Regions from separate parts of the Homo sapiens genome. Here region 2 is linked to region 1. Evidence: promoter capture Hi-C in 16 types of primary human blood cells and fetal thymus (Javierre and others, 2016). All regions are on one chromosome and are shown on one strand. The core of a region is centred on a gene start or on the middle of the fragment in contact, and the rest is flanking DNA. Distances in the headings are between cores, read along the strand shown. Region 1 holds the start of RNF122 (ring finger protein 122). Region 2 overlaps LOC105377778 (a long non-coding RNA gene).

The links. The method cuts DNA at HindIII sites, captures the fragments that hold promoters and counts their contacts. A CHiCAGO score of 5 or more calls a contact.
Region 2: a contact is called between a fragment that was not itself captured here and the fragment with the promoter of RNF122 in region 1, in 1 of 17 cell types (M2 macrophages). The highest score is 6.4, in M2 macrophages.

The regions. Positions count from the first base shown.
Region 1 is chr8:33,562,440-33,568,426 of GRCh38, reverse strand. RNF122 (ring finger protein 122) reads left to right here and starts at 1,299. Exons shown (of 6, transcript NM_024787.3): 1 at 1,299-1,728. The coding sequence starts at 1,704. RefSeq lists silencers at 1,415-1,534, 1,585-1,654, 1,685-1,734, 1,875-1,924. The HindIII fragment of the contact is 8,620 bases long and covers 337-5,987 here.
Region 2 is chr8:1,745,301-1,750,696 of GRCh38, reverse strand. LOC105377778 (a long non-coding RNA gene) reads left to right here. Exons shown (of 4, transcript XR_007060784.1): 3 at 2,293-2,403. Among named protein-coding and RNA genes, the nearest start is that of CLN8, 16 kb to the left of the region's middle. The HindIII fragment of the contact is 3,097 bases long and covers 991-4,087 here.

The DNA of each region.
Region 1 (5,987 bases), core at 50-2,549:
TTACAGAACTTTATTCAGTAAACACTGGAGACCAACAAACGTTATCAAGCAAAGAAATGTTCAGATTTACATTTTACAGAGATAATTGTGACCAGAAGGGATGGACTTGAGAGTGAAATCAGAGCACTGTTTCTTTCAATAGCCGCATGAGAATTTGAGGGGTGGGGAAGACAAGGCACATTAAAATGAAAATTTCTGGGTCCACCCTTTATTGAATCAGAATCTCTGGGTTCAAGGCCTGGGAATCTGCATGTTACATCTCAAACATAGGAGTGATTCTTGTAGGCTCTGAAGTCTGAGCTATAGACTAGAATCAGAATGGCCAGTTAGGAAGCTTTTGCAATTATCCAATTAAGAAATGAAATGTCCTGGGTGCCATGGCTCATGCCTGTAATCCCAGCAATCTGGGAGGCTCAGGCGGGAGGATCACTTGAGTCCAGGAGTTCGAGACCAGCCTGAGCAACATAGTGAGGCCACTCATCTATACAAAACAATTAAAAAGTAGCTGGGCTTGGTGGCAGGCACCTGTGGTCCCAGTTTCTTGGGAGGCTAAGGTGGCAGGACTGCTTGGGCCCAGAAGTTGGAGGCTGCAGTAAGCTATTATTGCACCGCTGCACTCCAGCTGAGTGACAGAGCAAGACTCTAACTCAAAAAAGAAAAAGAGGGCCGGGAGCGGTGGCTCACGCCTATAATCCCAGCACTTTGGAAGGCTGAAGCAGGAGGATCACTTGAGGCCAGGAGTTCGAGAACAGCCTGTCCAACATGGCGAAACCCCGTCGCTATTAAAAATACAAAAATTATCTGGGCATGGTGGTAAGCGCCTGTAATCCCAGCTACTCAGGAGGCTGAGGCAGGAGAATCACCTGAACCCGAGAGGCAGAGGTTGCAGTGAGCTGAGATCGCGCCGCTGCACTCCAGCCTTGGCGATAGAGGCAGACTCTGCCTCCAAATACATAAGTAAATAAATAACAGATCTGTAGGCGGAAAACAATGTGGCAGTAATTGTTCCTTTGCCTTGGTGTCCCTGGGCAAAAGGCAGGCCCCCACTCCGGGGCATCGCTCGTCGCCGCTCCATTCTCTGCAGACCGAAGTTTCCCCAGGCCTGGGAAGACTAAGTGGGAGGCGCCCACCGTGCGAAGATCCTCCCGGCTTCCAGGGAAGGGAGGCTGGGCCTGCAAATAATAGCCGGGGGCAGGAGAAAGGCTCCGATTGGTCGGAGGGAGGGTGACGAACAAGGGGCGGAGTTTTCCTGGGGACTGGTGGGGGAAGTAAAAGGGAGGGGGTGTGCACCGCCGGGTGTCAGTTTCGGAACCCCAGCCAGCTCACCTCTGCGCCGCTGAACCCGATCCGAGCCTCCGGCAAAGGTTTTTCCCTCCTCCCCCGGCCGAGGGCTTCTGCAGCCCGGGCACCCCCGCCCCGCGGCGCCCCACATTCCCCCAGCCCGGGGCCCTTGGCGCGTGCGCTCCGTGCGGCTGTGCTCCGCGGGACTTTGTTTGTTTCCTCCTCGTCCCTCTTTGTTGGGCTGAACACCAGCCTCGTCAAAGCCCCCCACTCCGGAGGGAGTTCGGCTTCTCCAGCAGGGCGGCTGCAGCGCGCTGCCCCGACCCCGCCTGCGGCCCCTCACGCCGCTAGTGCTCCCACCCCGCCCTCCTGGCACCCCGCCTGCGTCCGTTCGCCCGAGGAAGCCAACCGCGACTTCATTGATGCACCCATTCCAGTGGTGTAACGGTGAGTCCCCGGGGCGAGGGCCGAGCCTACGTGGGGCTGGTGGGAGCCGCGGCGCGGGGTGCGAGGTCGGACAGCAGCGCGCTGGTCCTCCCTCGGGAACCAAGTTTCTCCTGAAATGGGACAGTCGAGAAGGCGTCTTGGCGCCCCACTCTGCTCTGCACAGCGCGGAATTTGAAACTATCCAGGTTTCACTCCAGAGCCTGGAAGGGGCCTCCGGACTGGCGGCGGGCCGGGGGCGTGGGAGCCGAGGGGTTCCCGGCCTTTGTGTGGCGGCCCGGCTCTTCTACCCCCTTCCCCTGCCTTTGTGCGCTCAAACTCTGTTCTTTGTTGTGGTTGTTGGAGGAGAATTAAATCCGCACTCGGGCTGGGATCTCCTAGAGGGAGCTCAAGTTCCCGGCCTGAAACTTTGCAGGCTATTGTAAATATGTATACCGTGCAGCGTGCGGGACTGGGCGCGGGGGTAGCTTCCTCTGGCTTTGTTGGTTTCCCACGGGCTGCTGGCGTGGCTTGGGTGCTTGCGGAAGACTGGATTAAAGAGTCGCTTTCGGCCAGGCGCGGTGGCTCACGCCTGTAATCCCAGCACTTTGGGAGGCCGAGGCGGGCGGATCACCTGAAGTCGGGAGTTCGAGACCAGCCTAACCAACATGGAGAAACTCCGTCTCTACTAAAAATACAAAATTAGCCGGGAGTGGTGGCGCATGCCTGTAAGCCCAGCTACTTGGGAGGCTGAGGCAGGAGAATCGCTTGAACCCAGGAGGCGGAGATTGCAGTGAGCCTAGATCGTGCCATTACACTCCAGCCTGGGCAACAAGAGCGAAACTCCATCTAAAAAAAAGCCGTTTTCCTGAGTTGATAAACCCTCGCAGAGAGCTCCGCGCCCGGCTGTCCCTGGGGTGCGAGGCTGGCCTGGCGGGAGCCGTGTTTCTGGCCACAAGGCCAGATTAGGGTGTCTGCTCCTGAGCCCAAGTGAAGGCCACACCTCCAGACGCGACAACCCCTCGCCCCATTTCTCCCCAGGCCTGGGTGATGCTTCTAAGTTAGTTCATTTCACCTGAGGCTTTTTGGAGGTTCAGGTGATACTGGGTTAGGCTGGAGTCTGATTCCTCAGCGAGCTACCTGAAAGGTAGGTGTTTCTGAGCGGGACACTTCAAAACCTTGGATACTAATCGCCCCCCACCCCACCCGCTCCAGTCCTCCTGGGGTCCTAGTCTTGACCGCGTTGTTCCGATGCTTGGAGAGTTTCTGGGAGAGAGAGATGGGAAGCAGCTGGCCTTATCTCTCAGTATGGCAAGCGAGCTAGTTACAGGGGGAAAAAAATCATTCTTTAGAGTAGACTCCTGCCAGATCTTGGATTAATTATGTCAAGAGGCTTTGTTTTGAGGCAGGGTTTGGGTAGCATGTATACCCCACATCCCCCCACCCCGCCTTCCTCCTTTTGCTGGTCGGATCTCATTTCCTGAAAATGAACCAAGCCGTGTGTGATAGGCGGTTTTGTGGGAGAGGGGGCAGAGGATGGGGGTTGAGGAAGGCCCTTGCACCCTAGCATCTGGGAAAGATTCCCGTTGGCTGGGAAAGAGAAGCAGTTCCCAGATCCCCTGGTCTTTCTTGGCCAGCCCTTGTCTGACGTCATTCCTGCTCCCAGCCTGCCAGATGAGATGAGACATTCTGATGTCAGTGCTTTCATAGGTTGGCCGAGACAATGGAACAGAGACTTAGGGAGAAATGAGGCAGCTGTCAGTAACACTGCCCTTTCTGGGCAGCGCCCTTTCATATCAGATTTTAGACTTGCTGCTTTATTTTTTTTATTTTTTATTTTTTATTTTTTTGAGACTGAGTTTCGCTCTTGTTGTCCAGGCTGGAGTGCAATGGTGTGATCTCGGCTCACCACAACCTCCGCCTCCCGGGTTCAAGCGGTTCTCCTGCCTCAGCTTCCCGAGTACCTGGGATTACAGGCATGTGCCACCATGGCCGGCTAATTTTGTATTTTTAGTAGAGAGGGGGTTTCTCCATGTTGTTCAGACTGGTCTTGAACTTTTGACCTCAGGTGATCTGCCCACCTCAGCCTCCCAAAGTGCTGGGATTACAGGCGTGAGCCACTGCGCCCAGCCTACTTTAATTTTTTTTTTGAGAGAGGGTCTCACTCCGACAACCATGCTGGAGTGCAGTGGCACGATCAGGGCTCACTGCGGCCTCCAACTCCCAGGCTGAAGGGATCCTCCTGCCTCAGCCTCCCAGCATAGCTGGAACCACAGGTGTGTGCAACCATACCTGGCTACTGGCTAATTTTTAATTAATTAATTAATTAATCTACTTTTTGGGGATAGGGTTTCACTACATTGCCTATGCTGGTCTTGAACTCCTGGGCTCAAGCAGTCCTCCCACCACGGACTCTCAAAATGCTGGAATTACCTGCAGGAGCCACCTTGTCTGGCCCTCTTTGCACTTCTTAGAAAAGTGACTGAGAGATCCTGTCCTTTGACTCCTGTGAAGAAGCAACCCTTCCCTCACCCCTTCAGAAACTACCTGGAGCCCCTCTTTCCTGGGGCTGGTATTCTCTGTCCTTATACAGTTTTAAAGAAAAACTTACTACAGTGTCAGCTTTTGACCAGTAGACTATTTTGCCATTTCTTTAATAGTAACACAAGCAAATGAACCATCTCCTCTTGACTATGCTCTTCCCACCGACCTCTTTATCACGTGAAATACCAAGCTCACTGATTCAATCAGTGGGAGATAAAGGGGAAGCCTTTATCAGGCAGGATAAGTTGGTGGGGATAAACTGATCAGAGGACTTGCGGGGACCATCGTGCTTGTGGAGTGCACAGATATCCTCTGTAATAGCTCTGACCAGGTTCTGCAAGTTCCCAGAACTGGAAACCAAAGGAGGTTTCAGCTCATAAAAGGTGCCTGGAAGAACTAAGGAAACGGGGGGTTAGACCCTCTTGTAACATCAAATAGTGCGGGGGAAGGAGGTGAGAAAACAGCTGGGAGCACCAGGTCTTGTTGGAAGGGAAGTCCTGAGCCCCTTTTCCAGCATAGACTGAAGTTTGTCACTCTAGCCAGTCTGCCATGATGTCCTCATGGAAAATTGTTCTTCTTTGACCCACAGAAAGTAAATATTTGGGTGGGGACTGGTGGTGAAAAGCACTTTCTCTCTAACCCCTACTAGAGCCTAGACACAAGGAACTTCCTGTTGGGCACAGCAAAGTTTAGTAGCTAATTATTTCTTTCATTTCAACTTAATCAAAAAGTCTTTCACAACAAGAACTTCTACTTTCTGTTTTCCCACAATGTGTAGGTCAGTGCATAAAGCAAGCCCTCAATAATACTTGCTGGTTGACTGGTGATCCATTAGCGGAGGGCAGTTTCTGGGCAATTTTCCCAAACATCAGTCCTGCTGCTTTGAAGTGGGAGGTTTTGCCAAGGGGACCAGGTTATTTTAAGAAAATGGGGAATTATTTATCTGTTAACTAGTTATTGAGAACAAGCCAAACTCTAGGCTAGGCCGGACACTGGAGAATATACAAAAGTCCAAGTTGGAGTCAGCAAACCTAGGAGGGTTCAGGCTTTTTTTTTTTTTTCTTTTTTTCTTGAGTCTCACTCTGTCGCCCAGGCTGGGGCACAGTGGCGCCATCTCAGCTCACTGCAGCCTCTGCCTCAGCTCACTGCAGCCTCTGCCTCCCGGGTTCAACCAATTCTCCTGCTCCAGCCTCCCGAGTAACTGGGACTACAGGTGTGCACCACCATGCCCAGGTTTTTTGTTTTGTTTTGTTTAGAGACGGGAGTCTCTCTCTGTTGCCCAGGCTAGAGTGCAGTGGTGTGATCTCCGCTCACTGCAACCTCCGCTTCCCAGGTCGAAGTAATTCTCCTGCCTCAGCCTCCCGAGTAGCTGGGATTACGGGTGCCAGACACCAAACCCAGCTAATTTTTGTATTTTAGTAGAGATGGTGTTTCACCATGTTAGCCAGGTTGGTCTTGAACTCCCGACCTCAGGTGATCTGCCTACCTCAGCCTCCCAAAGTGTTGGGATTACAGGCGTGAGTCACTGCACCTGGCCTGAGCCTCACTTTCTATGGTGAAAATCTTTGTGTCTTTTTTTCCTATGTGGTAAGATCATCAGATCATCTAATCTTTTTTTTTTCTTTTTCTTTTTTTTTTTTGAGACAAGGTCTTACTCTGGCCCATGCTAAGTGCAGTGGTGCAATTGTGGCTCACTGCAGCCTCGACCTCTCAGACTCAAGTGATTCTCCCATCTCAGC
Region 2 (5,396 bases), core at 1,290-3,789, about 32 Mb after region 1:
GCATGATGCTGTGAGTCGAGGTATTCCCTGTGAAGCTTTCTGGCCAATCAAGGCTGAAATTCCATGTGGCAGAAAATCCAGGCCACAGAGGAACCAGTTAAACGAAGCCATAGGGAACCGGACAAATCTAGAATGTGGACAATTGGCCAGGTCTCCATAACAGATCAGTGTGCTGGGAGCGGGTTGGGGAGTGTGTGTGTGTCAGGGAGTTGAGTCTAGATTAAAACAGCCAAAGACATGTGACAACTGCACTCACCATGTGAGCCGTGATTGGGGGCTTTTCCAACAGGCAGTGGTCAGACGCATCCTCAGGGACAACTGGGGACATTTCAATATGGACTGAGCATTCGGTAGTCTTAGTGACTTATTGCTGACTTTCTTTTTTTTTGAAATGACGTTTCCCTCTTATTGCCCAGGCTGGAGTGCAGTGGCGTGATCTCGGCTCACCGCAACCTCTGCCTCCCGGGTTCAAGCGATTGTACTGCCTCAGCCTCCCAAGTAGCTGGGATTACAGGCACGCGCCACCAAGCCTGGCTAATTTTGTATTTTTGTTTCTTTTAGTAGAGATGGGGTGTCTCCATGTTGGTCAGGGTGGTCTCGAACTCCTGACCTCAGGTGATCCGCCCACCTCCGCCTCCCAAAGTGCTGGGATTACAGGTGTGAGCTACCGTGCCCAGCCAAAAGTTTATGTTTTTAAGAGAAATGTGCTGAAGCACTGGGCTCGAGTGACAGTATGGTGGTTTATTCTGAAAGGGCTCAGCTGTGTGTGCAAGAGTGTATGTGAGTGTGTGTGTATGTCAGCATATGTGTGTGAGTATGTATGTGTCTGTGTGAACGTGTACGTGTGTGTATGTGTATGTGTGTGAGGATGGTGTGTATGTGTATGTGCTGAAGTAAATATGACTGAACAATAAGAATCGTCGATCTGGTTGTTTGGTACATGAGTATTCATCTTATTTCTTTTTCACTTTTTCTGTGCATTTGAAAGCTTTCATAGGAAGTCAGAAAATGTATCTGGTTGTTAAAACAATATTGTAACGTACACACACAGTCCATTTCCAGTCCCAGAATTGAGACAGTTAGTGCAGAGGCCACTGGCTCAGCTGTGGAAACCAGACTGCACGGTCCATCTGCACCCATGCTGTCTGTGAGCCCTGGGAATGTCGCTTCCTGTCTCTGGGCCTCAGTTTCCTTCTCTATAAAATGGGCTGATGCTGTTCCTGCCACAGAGGCTGGTGGGATTCAGGCCACATACCCCGGCACATCAGCGTTCCGTTGTTACACATTTGAATACTCCCAAGCCAGTTGGTAAACAGTTGACTCTCCGGGACCCCTTGCACGTTTCCACGACTCAGCAATCAACGTGGAGCTGAACTGGCTGTGAAGCGTTTTGAGCACTGCCCGTGTTTGTCTCACAGCCCTCACGGGAATCCCGGTTAATATACTCAATGAGCGGAGCCCTGAAAACCCCGCCTGCCACCTCGTAAGTGTTCTATAAGCGTTTGCCATTTTAGTAAGTCCTTGTATTTTTATCCAATCTTTGTTTTATGTTACAAAGATAGATGGAAGGTTAACGTTGAAGTAATTAACTTCTTAATGGAAGTGTAGAATTACAAAGTAATTGAAAAGAAGAATAGATGAGATCTGTGAGAGTTTCTTGTCTTTCTGCCTCATGCTAAAATGTAAGCTCTTGTTGTAAACGAAAGCCTGCGTGCAAATGGTTTGCAGGCTGATTAGCGAATCTGGGGCACGGAGCTATCCAGGAGCTCTCACTGTAGATTTAACATCCACGCATTTTATGTAGCTTCTTGATGCTGATGTTGGTAAGAGACGCTAAATTGTCATGGGCATTATGTGGAAAACCCGTAGATGATTTCTGGAGCACAAAAGCCTGACCTGGAATTGGGGCAGAGCTGGGGAAGGTAGGGGGAATGATTCATTTTTGCAGCAAGGGGGATGTGGGGGGCTCAGGCCAGGGCAGGGTGGGGCTGCTGGAAACAAGATAAAGAGAAGGACATAGATATAATGGCAAGGACTCCTTAGCTGTGGGCTAATCGGTGAGCTCAATTATGTCGGGCAAGTTTAAAGAATTTAAACATTAAACCATATGTTCCATACATAAAATAATTTTTGAGGGCCAGGGAACTTCCAGCCAGACACCGACCTCGGGTTGTTCATCACCATAGTGGCTGGTGGGGTACCATTCACGTGGGAGGTCGGAGGAGTGAGCAAGCGGGTTAGGCTGTGTCAGCCTTCCTGACAGGTGCTCAAGGACATCCGCTGTGTGCCTAGGTGCAGCTGTGTCACTGGGATGGACACAGGAAGCAATGTGGGGTCTTTGCTGCCAGTGAGCTCCCGGTCTAGGAGAAGAGAGAGGAAGCATCTTTATCTGTGTTATCCCAGGTACGCGTGCCAATTATATGTCTGTATCCTTATCTGTGTCTACATATACACCTACATCTACATCTACAGTCATATCAATATCTATACCCATACCCATATCTCTATATTTCTACATCTATACCCATATCACAGCTGTGTCTATATCTGTTAAGTCATTCTTGCATTGCTATAAAGAAATACCTGAGACTGGGTCATTTACAAAGAAAAGAGGTGGAATTGGCTAACGGTTCTGCAGGCTGCGCAAACATCGTACCAGCATCTGCTCCGCTTCTGGGGAGGCCTCTGGGAGCTTTTGCTCATGGCGGAAGGTGAAGCAGGAGCAGGTGTGTCACATGGACAGAGCTGAAGTCAGAGAGAGAGAGAGTGGGTTGGGGGAGCTGCCACACACTTAAACACCCAGACCTCCTGAGAACTCACTCACCATTGTGAGGACAGCACAAAGCCACGAGGGATCTTCACCCACGAACTAAACCCCTCCCGCCAGACCCCATCTCCAACACTGGAGATTACAACTCAACATGAGACTTGGGTGGGGACAAATATCTAAACTATATTACTATATCTATATCTATATACATCTATGTCCATAGCTACATCTATGTCCACATCTGTATCTGTAATCTGTGTGTTCAGATAGATACACATGTCTTTTTACAAAGAAAATAAAGCCAGGTTGCAGTGGCTCACACTGGTAATCCCAGCACTTTGGGAGGCTGAGGCAGGTGGATCACCTGAGGTCAGGAGTTCGAGTCCAGCCTGGCCAACATGGTGAAACCCTGTCTCTATTAAAAATACAAAAAAAAAAATAGCTGGGCATGGTGGCGGGTGCCTGTACTCCCAGCTACTCAGGAGGCTGAGGCAGGAGAATCGCTTGAACCCAGCAGGCAGAGGCTGCAGTGAGCTGAGATCATGCCACTCCACTCCAGCCTGGGCGACAGAGTGAGACTCCCTCTCAAAAATAAATAAATGAAAAGAAAATAAGCTCAGAGAAATCAGGTGGTGCCACCATCAATAAGCATCAGAACTGGAATGCAAACGTGGGCTTTGGTGCCTTCAAAGTCAGAACTGTGTTCACCCCTCTCGCTTTAGGGTCTGTATCAGTTTGTTAGGGCTGCCATAACAAAGTGCCACAAACAATAGGACGGTCTTCTCTCCCAAGCCAGAAGTCGGAGATCCCGGTGTCCGCAGGGTTGAGCTCCCCTGAAGGCTCCAGGGGAGGGTCTGTCCCAGCTGGGCCTGGATCTGGCCTCCGGTGGCCCCTCGGCTGGGTGGCCCCTGGGCTGAGTGGCTCCTCGGCTCGGTGGTGGAGCTCCAGTCCTCACGTGGTGTCCTTCCTCTGTGTGTGTCTCTCTGTGTCCCAGTTTCCCCTTTTTATAAGAACACTGACTGTATTCAATTAGGATCCTCCCTCATGACCTTATCTGAATTTGATTTAATTTCATTCCCTCTTTGGAAATAGACAAGACCCTATTTCCAAATAAAGTCACATTTCCAGGTATGGGGGGTGGTTAGGTCTCCAACATACCTTTTTTTTTTGAATGGGGTATAATTCAACTCATAACGGTGTCTTTCACCAAAACCCAGTGATCCTACTTAATCCACATCCCATCTCTTAATGCCTAGTCCCATCGACTTGTCACTAGATGATGCTGAGAACAAAGGTTTTGTATCTGGGATAAAAGCTTTTTCATCATCATAGAAATTTGGCAAACTTCAGAAGCACCATTACTGTGTTTCAATTTTGTCAAGCCTTTTAACAGCTGTACCATATCCTTGGACTACTTCTATTTTGTAGATAAACGCACGGATACTTGTTTATGTGTACACGTGGTGCTCACACCGAATGTTAGAAGTATGCAATGTGCTTTCTTACACGTGTGGTCATTTATGGCAAACAGCTCTGGGAGGAAAGCAAGGCAGGAAGCAGCTTGTGCATCTGCAGAGGGCACGATGGTGTCTGCTGGGCTGGGTGACTCACCAGTCACAAGCTGGGGTGGGTGGGGCCAGAGAGCCACAGTGCAGAGCTGCTGGACCTCAGGCCCTCACAGCTGAATCAGGGTTCACTTTTTAGGGCTTATTGTTGGGCACAGTCCAGAGACAGCCAGAAATCCCCACATATTAAAGCAGAAAGCACCTTCTAGCCGAGCCACGTTGGACGTGGGACCCATCACTTGTCTTATTTCCACATCTTATAACTTGGAGGAACACAGTTATTGCAATCTTTGCACTGTCTGCCTTTCCTCCATATGTGCTCTGTAGTGTTATTTTCTTGACATTTCTCTTCCTTTGGGGTGGAAAAAGAGGAAAAAGGTCACGGTGGGTGGAAACAAAATGAGAAGAGAAAGTGCATGGGCAGAATTTCAGTGAGGATGTTGTCACTTCAGAAACCCACACCTCCAACTTGTGGTCTGACGAGGTGATCAAACTCAGGACACAAGACGGCGCTCCTCGCCCCACCGCAGCTAACGTCAGTCACGTTACAGGGCAGGTAGGATGGAAAGCGCGTGGCCTATGCTGCGGTCCAGCTTAGATTCTAGCAGCGCGGCTTTCATATCCTGCTCAGGCAAGCCTTGGTCACTCACTGGGCCTCTGATTCTGTGACAAATCCATTGGGCAGACACCCCGAGAGAGCAAGAGGTGACTGAGTCATGGCCTGGCTGTGAGGGACAGCCCACAGTCTGGAGATAGCAAGCCGCCAATGCTGCAGTCACCCTTATAAAACATTTGGAATTACGGAAGCTGAGCAGAGCAGGTTTTGCTTGTTTACTTTGTTTCTGGTTTGCAGAGAGCATTAGGTTGGAGGAAGTTTTTTTTTCTTGTTCTTACATCACAAAATGTAAACTATCAGAGACTTAAAGCTTAAGCATTTTTGTGCATCCAGACAAACCACGACAAAACAAAACAGCCAGCCACAGCCTACACGTTTGGGCCAGGGTCGTGGTTCTCTCACGGAATGCTGTTCAGAAGCGAAAAGACACCAACATTGACAATTC